2 separate regions of the Homo sapiens genome follow, and region 1 is linked to region 2. The links are contacts of gene promoters, found by promoter capture Hi-C in blood cells and fetal thymus (Javierre and others, 2016). All regions are on one chromosome and are shown on one strand. The core of a region is centred on a gene start or on the middle of the fragment in contact, and the rest is flanking DNA. Distances in the headings are between cores, read along the strand shown. Region 1 has its middle 2.5 kb from the start of KGD4. Region 2 holds the start of TRIM23 (tripartite motif containing 23).

The links. The method cuts DNA at HindIII sites, captures the fragments that hold promoters and counts their contacts. A CHiCAGO score of 5 or more calls a contact.
Region 1: a fragment that was not itself captured here is called in contact with the fragment with the promoter of TRIM23 in region 2 in 1 of 17 cell types (non-activated CD4 T cells); the score reaches 9.8 in non-activated CD4 T cells.

Annotation. Positions count from the first base shown.
Region 1 is chr5:69,212,972-69,217,590 of GRCh38, reverse strand. No RefSeq gene overlaps it. Among named protein-coding and RNA genes, the nearest start is that of KGD4, 2.5 kb to the left of the region's middle. The HindIII fragment of the contact is 3,043 bases long and covers 778-3,820 here.
Region 2 is chr5:65,622,714-65,627,332 of GRCh38, reverse strand. TRIM23 (tripartite motif containing 23) reads left to right here and starts at 3,000. Exons shown (of 11, transcript NM_001656.4): 1 at 3,000-3,139. The coding sequence starts at 3,059. It overlaps TRAPPC13 (trafficking protein particle complex subunit 13), which reads right to left and starts at 2,306. Exons shown (of 13, transcript NM_024941.4): 1 at 2,227-2,306. The coding sequence starts at 2,272. It overlaps SHLD3 (shieldin complex subunit 3), which reads right to left and starts at 2,306. Exons shown (of 2, transcript NM_001365341.2): 1 at 2,227-2,306. RefSeq lists enhancers at 2,791-2,870, 3,001-3,330. The HindIII fragment of the contact is 4,327 bases long and covers 1,251-4,619 here.

The DNA of each region.
Region 1 (4,619 bases), core at 1,050-3,549, 3.6 Mb before region 2:
GTCTCTGCTCATTAGCCTATAAATTGTCTAGGACCATTTCCTTTCCAGAAAGCCAGTCTATAATTTCGATATAGTTCAAAATTTTATCTGGAACCAAATAAATAATACAACCTTCTTATCTGACAGCTCTTGCAAAGATTAAAAAAATTAAAGAAAAACAAAAAAAAAACCTTGCGGTTTCCTAAAATGAATAATTTCGTTAAAATGGGAGTTAGTGGCAAGCTCACAAGAGTTTACTCTGGCTTAAAAAGGGCCATGTCACACTCTCTTGCTGATTGGCATTGCTTGATTGTAATTTGTTTCTGTTTTCTTTACCGTTTATTACTCCTGATATCGAACTGCTGGGCCTTTGCTTCAAGTTGAGATAACTCAAAAATTCAGAAATATTTGAAATGTAAGCCACTCATATCTTTCCCCCAAAATTACATTACGGGCGGGGCGCTATGGCTCACGCCTGTAATGCCAGCACTTTGGGAGGCTGAGGCGGGCGGATCACTTGAGGTCAGGAGTTCGACACCAGACTGGCCAACATTGTAAAACCCTGTCTCTACTAAAAATACAAAAATTAGCCGGGCGTGGTGGCGGGCGCCTGTAGTCCCAGCTACTCAGGAGGTGAGGCAGGAGAATTGCTTGAACCCAGAAGGCAGAGGTTGCAGTAAGCCGAGAGTGTGCCACTGCACTCCGGCCTGAGCGACAGAGGGAGACTCCGTCTCAAAAAAAAAAAAAGTTACATTACGTTCTGTGATAATGCTTAGGTTATATATAGTATTGTAAGCTTGACCAATGTGTTTGATGATATACATCAGTGATTTCTAAGTCTTGGGATCTTTTTAGAAATATAAATTACTGAACCCAGGTATGGTCTATTGGGATTCAGTGACTACAGAGAGGCCATTAACCCGTTTTGTTTTGTTTTGTTTTTGTGGTTTTTTTTTTTTTTTTTGAGACGGAGTCTCGCTCTGTTGCCCAGCCTGGAGTGCTGTGGCGTGATCTCAGGTCACTGCAACCTTTGCCTCCTGGATTCAAGCAATTCTCCAGCCTCAGCCTCCCCAGTAGCTGGGATTACAGACGCCCGCCACCACGCCTGGCTAATTTTTGTATTTTTGGTAGAGACAGAGTTTCACCATATTGGCCAGACTAATCTCCAACTCCTGGCCTCAAGTGATCCACCCACCTCAGCCTCCCTAAGTGCTGGTATTACAGGCGTGAGCCACTGCGCCTGGCCCCATTTTAATTATTTTCAAATGTGCAGTTCAGTCACATTAAGTACATTCACATTGTTGGGCAATTGTTACCATCTTCAGAAACTGTACCCATTAAACAAAAACTTATTCCTCCTTCCCTCAGCCTCTGACAACTATCATTTTACTTTCTGTCTATGAATTTGACTACTGTGGGTACTTAATGTACGTGGAGCCATAACAGTATTTGTCCTTTTGTAATTAGCTTGTTTCACTTAGCATGTCTTCAGAGTTCATTCATGTTGTAGAATGTGTCAGAATTTCTTTTTTAAGGCTGAAAAAATCCCATTATATGTGTATACCACATTTTGCTTATCCATTCATCTGTGGTAATTCTTTTTTTTTTTGAGACAGAGTCTTGCTCTGTCACCCAGGCTGGAGTGCAGTGGTGCCAACTCGGCTCACTGCAAGCTCCGCCTCCCTGGTTCACACCATTCTCCCACCTCAGCCTCCCAGGTAGCTGGGACTACAGGCACCCGCCACCACACCAGGCTAATTTTTTTTGTATTTTTAGTAGAGACAGGGTTTCACTGTGTTAGCCAGGATAGTCTCCATCTCCTGACCTCGTGATCTGCCCGCCTCAGCCTCCCAAAGTGCTGGGATTACAGGTGTGAGCCACCGTGCCCAGCCGATAATTTTTTTTTTTTTTTGAGACAGAGTCTCGCTGTGACACCCAGGCTGGATGCAGTGGCATGATCTCAGCTCAATGCAACCTCTGCCTCCTGGGTTCAACTGATTCTCCTGCCTCATCCTCCTGAGTGGCTGGGATTACAGGTGCCCACCACCACGCCCAGCTAATTTTTGTATTTTTAGTAGAGACAGGGTTTCTCCGTGTTGGCCAGAATGATCTCAAACTCCTGACCTCAGGTGATCCGCCCACCTTGGCCTCCCAAAGTGCTGGGATTACAGGTGTGAGCCACCGCACCTGGCCCAGTTCAATGCTTTTTAGAAAATTTTCATTTGAGACTCCTTTGACCTATGCCTCATTTAAAAGTGTGTTCAGTTTCCAAGTATTTGGAAATTTTCCTGTTATCTGACTGTTACTGATTCCTCATTTGATTCCCTTGTAGTCAGAACACAGTCTGTATAATTTCAATTCTTTTATATTTGTTGATATTTTGTCATCCAGGATATGGTCTATGTTGTTTATGTTCTGTAAGCACTTGAAAAGAGTGTTCTGCTGTTGTTTGGTGGAGTATTCTATAAATGTTGATTAGCTCCTCTGTTAGTCCATGTGTGCTACTGTAACAAAATACCTTAGTATGGGTAATTTATAACCACAGAAATTTATTTCTCATGTTCAGGAGGCTCAAAAGTCTAAGATCAAAGTACCAGCAGTTTCGGTGTTTTGTGAGGGCTCAGTCTTTTCTTCCAAGATGGTGCTTTGAACACTGCTTCATCCGAGGGGTTTAACACTGTGTGCTCACATGGCAGAAGGGCAGAAGAGAAGGAACCCATTCCCTCAAACTTTTTTTTTTTTTTTTTTTGAGACAGTCTTGTTCTGTCACCCAGGCTGGAGTGCAGTGGCACAATCTCGGCTCACTGCAACCTCCATCTCCTGGGTTCAAGCGATTCTCCTGTTGCAGCCTCCCAAGTAGCTGGGATTACAGGCGCCCTCTACCACACCCAGCTAATTTTTGTATTTTTAGTAGAGATGGGGTTTTGCCATGTTGGACAGGCTGGCTTTGAACTCCTGACCTCAGGTGATCGGCCCACTTTGGCCGCCCAAAATGCTGGGATTACAGGTGTGAGCCATTGTGCCTGGCCCTCAAACCTTTTTTTAAGGGCCTTAATCTCATCCATGATGGTTCTGTACTCATGATTTAATCATTTCCAATACCTTTTCGTATTGTCACATTAGCAATTTTCAATAGATGAATTTTGAAGGACACAGTCAGACCATAGCTTACCGCCTTTGGCCCCCCAAATTTATGTCCTACTCACATGCAAAATACATTTATCGGACGCTTGTTGCTCACACCTGTAATCCCAGCACTTTGGGAGGCTGAGGCAGACGGATCACTTGAGGTCACGAATTCCAGGCCAGCCTGGCCAACACGGTGAAACCCTGTCTCTACTAAAAATAAAAAAAATTAGCTGAGCGTGGTGGTGTATGCCTATAATCCCAGCTACTTGGAAGCCGAGGCATGAGAATTGCTTGAACCTGGGAGGCGGAAGTTGTTCACAGTGAGCCAAGATCGTACCACTGCACTTCAGCCTGGGGGACAAAGGGAAACACTGTCTCAAAAGACAAACAAAAAAAACCCAAAAATACATTTATCCATCCCAGTAGCCCCAAAAGTCTCAACTCATTCCAGCACCAACTCAAAACTATAAAGTCCAGAGTCTCACCTAAATCAGATATGGATGAGACTCAAGGCCATGACTCATCCTGAGGCAACTTCTCCTGCAGCTGTGAGCCTGTGAAATCAAATACATGTGCTTCCAAAACACAATGATGGGTCAGGAACAGGACTGACATTCCCATTCCAAGAGGGAGAAATAGGCAAGAAGAAAGGAGTAATAGGTCCCAAGTAAGTTAAAAACCCAAAAGGCCAACAACATTAACTCTTGAAGCTTGAGAATAATTCTTGACTCAGTATCTTGCCTTCAGGATGCATTGGGCTGGGGGTTGGACCCCCAAAGCCCCGGGGCAGCCCTACCCCATGGTTTTGATGGGCACAGTTCCAACCCAGCAGCTCTCAGCAGTTGAAGAGAGGTACCTGGGCTCTCTCAGGCAAGTATTGCATGCTGATGGCTCTACAGGTCTGGAGTCTGCCCTCCATACAGGGGTGGCCCTGCCATACAGCTCTGTAACAGCCTTTTATTGTTAGCCTTAGATAGCAGACAACTACCACTGAGGTTTTTTGAGATGGAGTCTCGCTGTCACCCAGGCTGGAGTGCAGTGGCACGATCTCGGCTCACTGCAAGCTCCGCCTCCCGGATTCACGCCATTCTCCTGCCTCAGCCTCTGGAGTAGCTGGTACTACAGGCGCCCGCCACCACACCCAGCTAATTTTTTGTATTTTTAGTACAGACAAGGTTTCACCGTATTAGCCAGGATGGTCTCAATCTCCAGACCTCATGATCTGCCTGCCTCAGCCTCCCAAAAGTGCTGGGATTATAGGCGTGAGCCACCGCACCCAGTTTTTGTTTTTGTTTTGAGACAGGGTCTCTGTCACCCAGGCTGGAGCACACTGGCACCATTATAGCTCATTGCAGCCTCAAACTCCCCAGTTCAAGCAGTTCTTCTGCCCCAGCCTCCTGAGCAGCTGGGACTACAGGCACATACCACCATGCCCAGATCACTGAGTTTGTTAGTGATACGATGTCATCTTAGCAGGTTAGTTCTTCTGTCCTTTTTGTAGAATATAATCC
Region 2 (4,619 bases), core at 1,751-4,250:
AAATGACCACTTAAATTAATACATTTGGCATTCAGCATCAGCACATTGAAATGTGTGAAAATTGTTGATTAACTAGAACAATGGGTTAACTATAAGATGGTACTAAAGAGGTTTAATAAAGTTGAAACTATCAGTCAATTTTGAAGCACTTGTCCGTTTAGGCTGCTTATTGTTCTTTTTTTTTTTTTTTTTTTTTTTTTTGAGACAGGGTCTCACTCTGTCACCCAGGCTGGAGTGCAGTGGCGCAATCTCAGCTCACTGCAGCCTCTGCCTCCCAGGTTCAAGCGGTTCTCCTGCCTCAGTCTCCCGAGTAGCTGGGATTACACCACCACACCTGGCTAATTTTTGTATTTTTGGTATAGACGGGTTTTCGCCATGTTGGCCAGGCTGGTGTCAACTCCTGATCTCAAGTGATCTGCCAGCCTCGGCCTCCCAAAGTGCTATTACAGGCGTGAGCCACCACGCCTGGCTTAGGCTGCTTAAATATTCTTTCTTAGGTATCCTTGGTTTTGGAAAAAAAAGAATAACAGAAAACTAAAAATTCCCAGTGGCAGTCTCTGTATCACTGGAATTTAACTTTTTGTTTGTTTGTTTTTTGAGATGGAGTCTCGCTCTGTTGCCTAGGATGGCGTGCAGTGGCGTGATCTCGGATCACTGCAAGCTCCGCCTCCCGGGTTCACGCCATTCTCCTGCCTCAGCCTCCTGAGTAACTGGGACTACAGGCGCCCGCCACCACGCCTGGCTAACTTTTTGTATTTTTATAGAGACGGGGTTTCACTATGTTAGCCAGGATGGTCTTGATCTCTTGACCTTGTGATCACCCGCCTTGGCCTCCCAAACTGCTGGGATTACAGGGGTGAGCCACCACGCGCGGCTGCAATTTAACTGTTTTTAATAGCTTCTAATTTGTATAAATCACACGTAGCAGTTAATAGAACTGTTCCAAATTCCCATCGGAGTAGCTGGTAGAGGAATTATCTCTGAGAATGCTGCTTCATTCTTTAGGAGGCAACACGGACTCTTGGAAAGAGAGGCAGGCCTTGCGTTGAAACACTGCCTCAATCACTAGCTATGTGATCTTGGAAAAGTTACTTAAACTCTGAGAATTAATATTTACTCCACATACTTGAAGTGAGATTGTGAGATAAAGAACACGACAATTAGTTGCTTTTCTTCTTTTCCCTCTTCTCCACGAGTAACAATCCATTTTAATCTCCATTTTAGTCTAGATCATTTGCTCAGGTTAAGCTTACAGGTCCCATCACTGTATCACTAAACATTACAAAGTTCCACAGTAAGAGACAATCTCGCTAACACAGGCATCATTATATGAGACTGATGAGCTTCTAGAAAGTCTGATGACTACATCATAATGGGAAGGATAAGGCGTTCCTCAAAATGGATGCCATAAGTAAAGTAAGCGCAATTCAATTGAACCCGAATGTTTATTGAGCATTTCCTCAGCTCATTCAAGAAGTCATTGTTAACCATATATTAAGGCATCCAAGAAACAAAAAGCGCATTTGTTGTAGTAAAAAACAAATAAAATAAAGCTGAAAAGATTTCAAATAAAAGGTTTCCAGAAAATAGGCATTAAAAAAATTGTCCTAAAAAAAAAAGTGCTGCTGTTTTTTCCTAAATAATGATCTAATTAAATCACCAAACTTACTCAAAATGGCTGTGTACAAAAAATGAGAGTTGACATTAGATCTCGGACATATTTCCCACATACACAGTGATTTGAAGTAAACTGCAGTTTGTTTTGAATAAATCTAAGTTATATGTTGTATTACTATGTATTGCTAAATTCTCTGCACTACTGTCATGCAATACTAATTTTACAGGGGAAGCTGAAGCCTGATTAACTTCGTCAGTGCCACAGGAAGAAACAAGAGACAGAAGGAAAAAGCACTTTGGATGCCCGCTGTAATTCACAGAGATCTCCACGGTAGGAGCGGGACGTCAGCTTCTGCGGCTAAAATCTCGTGACTGAAGCAGCACAGATCAGAAAGAACGATTTACCAGGTATCTATTTCGTTCTAGAAAGGGGCCCATAAACCTAAAAAGCATCCAGGAGAAATCGCTTCCTCCCGCTTGGCGGCAAAGGACAGAGCAGGAGGGCGAGCACTGAGTGTTTAAGAAGGATGAGGCCTACATGGCAAAGGCTTCGATAAGTAGGGAATGCAAGGAAACAGAAAAGGGGGAATCAGGTTCGCAAAAGTTTACCTTTTAGCGCCAGCAGGTGCTCCTGTTTAGGGGGATTCACTTCCATTTTGACCGGCACTTTTGACCCACAGCCTACGGGGGCTGGACAGGTTCAACTTGCCCCGGAAGGAAACGGAAAACCTCGCGTTTGGCAAAACCAAAAGTCAAACGCACTCTCAACCTCTCTCTGGTGGTGGTACCTTAAATTCTCCTACTGTGTCCTTTACAAACTGGCTTCTTTTCAACAAGTCCATTTCTTCTATCTTAGAAACGTAGGCATAAAATACTTTGTTTTCCATCTGCAATCACACATCGCGACTGCAGGAAAAGAAACCACCCCTAGGTAACAATACGCGGCCTCCCAAAGGCCAACGTTGCCGGAGTTTTTTTTTTAAAAAAAAAAAAAAAAAAAAAAAAGAGAGAGAGAGAGAGTGGCATGCTGGGATTTGTAGTTTATACAAAAACCGCGTTGCATGCAGGGAGATGCCCGTACCCCCTCACCGCCCTCAGTTCACGCCCTGGCTGGTTTGGATTCGAGAGGAAAAATCATTAAAGGATCTGGAGTTTTCACCCCAAAACTTTAATCGTTTTGTCCCTTCTTTTTTTTTCTTGTCTTTCCTCCAGCAGCTGCAGACTACATAATGAAAAATAACAAAAGTGCCCATGCGCGAGGCTGTGCAACTAACCACCCGACGATTGCGGGGAGGAGGAGTAAGAGTCGGCTAAGCGGCGCCCAGTGTCCTACTGCGCCTGTGCGCCGGTGGCGTGCGCAGAGGCCTCTGGGTAGGTGGCTCAACCCCGCCTCTCAGTTGAGGACTCTGAAGGCTGTTTCTGTGGCGCTTCCCCTGCGAGGATGGCTACCCTGGTTGTAAACAAGCTCGGAGCGGGAGTAGACAGTGGCCGGCAGGGCAGCCGGGGGACAGCTGTAGTGAAGGTGAGGGACCTTGCGTGCTCTATTCTCCACCATCGGCCTCCCTTCGGTTCATCCTGGAGACCTGGCGGCATCGCCGCGGCCCAGGCTTCGATAGGTGGGATGCGCGGCCTCTGGGCCCCTTTTGGCATTACAAGTCTCGTCCTGTCCTCTGCATCCTTTCTCTCCTATGGCCTGAAATTGCCTGGTCTTCTGCTCATGACATGTCATCATCGGGACATTTGTGAAAAGGAGCTTGCGGGCCAGTGGCAGTGACCTAGACCGGTCTTTTCTCCAGGTCCTCTGCTTTTAGTTAAACTCAACAGACATTAATTAGCTTAGTATTATAAATTGAGTCATCATCATCGTAACTACGTACTAAGTTAGGTGTTTTAGCTCGTTAATATCTACTTATGAAGTAGATGTGAATTCCCATTTTACAGGGAGGAAACCCAGGTTTAGGTAAACAGTGTGTGGCAGAGCCCCGGGTTGACCGGCTTTAAAGTCTGTACTTTTCGCTCTTGTACTGCGTCTGTAATCAGACATCTGTTATTGGGTGAGCTGCCCCCTCCCCTGTTAGTAGTACAGTCTATTAACTCTTTGCACAAGTCTGCAGCATCGTCATAGCTGGGCATTAACGATAGAGTTTATGAATTTTCTTATGCTTGAAGTTTGAGATTCTACCATGTATACATGCTCCAGAATCAATTTGCTAAAAAATCATTTGAAATATGTGGCACTCATTTTTCCCTTCCACTGTTGTGCACGGAAAGATATGGAGGGGAGAACTGATCCCATTGGTTTATAGAGTAACCTTCAGGAGCATCTCTAATCTAAGAGATTGATAATTCTCATTCCTGGCTACATATTAGGATCACTGAGGAGTTTTAGTACACTACTGATGCACTCCTCCTCCAGTTCTGATGAGGTTGACATCAGTATATTTTAGGAATTACCAGAAGTTATTTTAATGTGCAACCAGGGTTATGAATTACTGATCAAGGTAATATATGAAGTTTTTTTCACATCTTGAAAAGTAGACACCTATGATTATTCAGGTAATGTTGGTTTTATATGACAGCAAATGAGACATTTCTTCCCACAATTTAGTATCAGTGAATATTGGTGGTTGTTGATTCAGATGACCTTTAGGTACTAATGAAGTTATTCTACAGGTACACGGCATATCTGATATGCAAAGGAGCCCTCATTATTAGGCATGTTGTGTGACTGAGATTTTATTTATTGAATTGTGCTTTTGCTAAGTAGAGAATACTTGAAGAGCAGTTTGTGAATTAACTTGAAGTTTAAGTTTTATTTCATAATTGGAATGGGTATCATTGCAGTATCTATTTTTTTGTTACCCTGTTTGCCTTACAGTCTCAAAAGTGTACCAAAGCCTGATGTAACTCCAGTTTCTTACAGCACAGAATTTGATACATTGGAGGCTCACCTTGTTCATTTTCATCTTAACATGTAAAATATTCCTGAACTGTGCAATGAA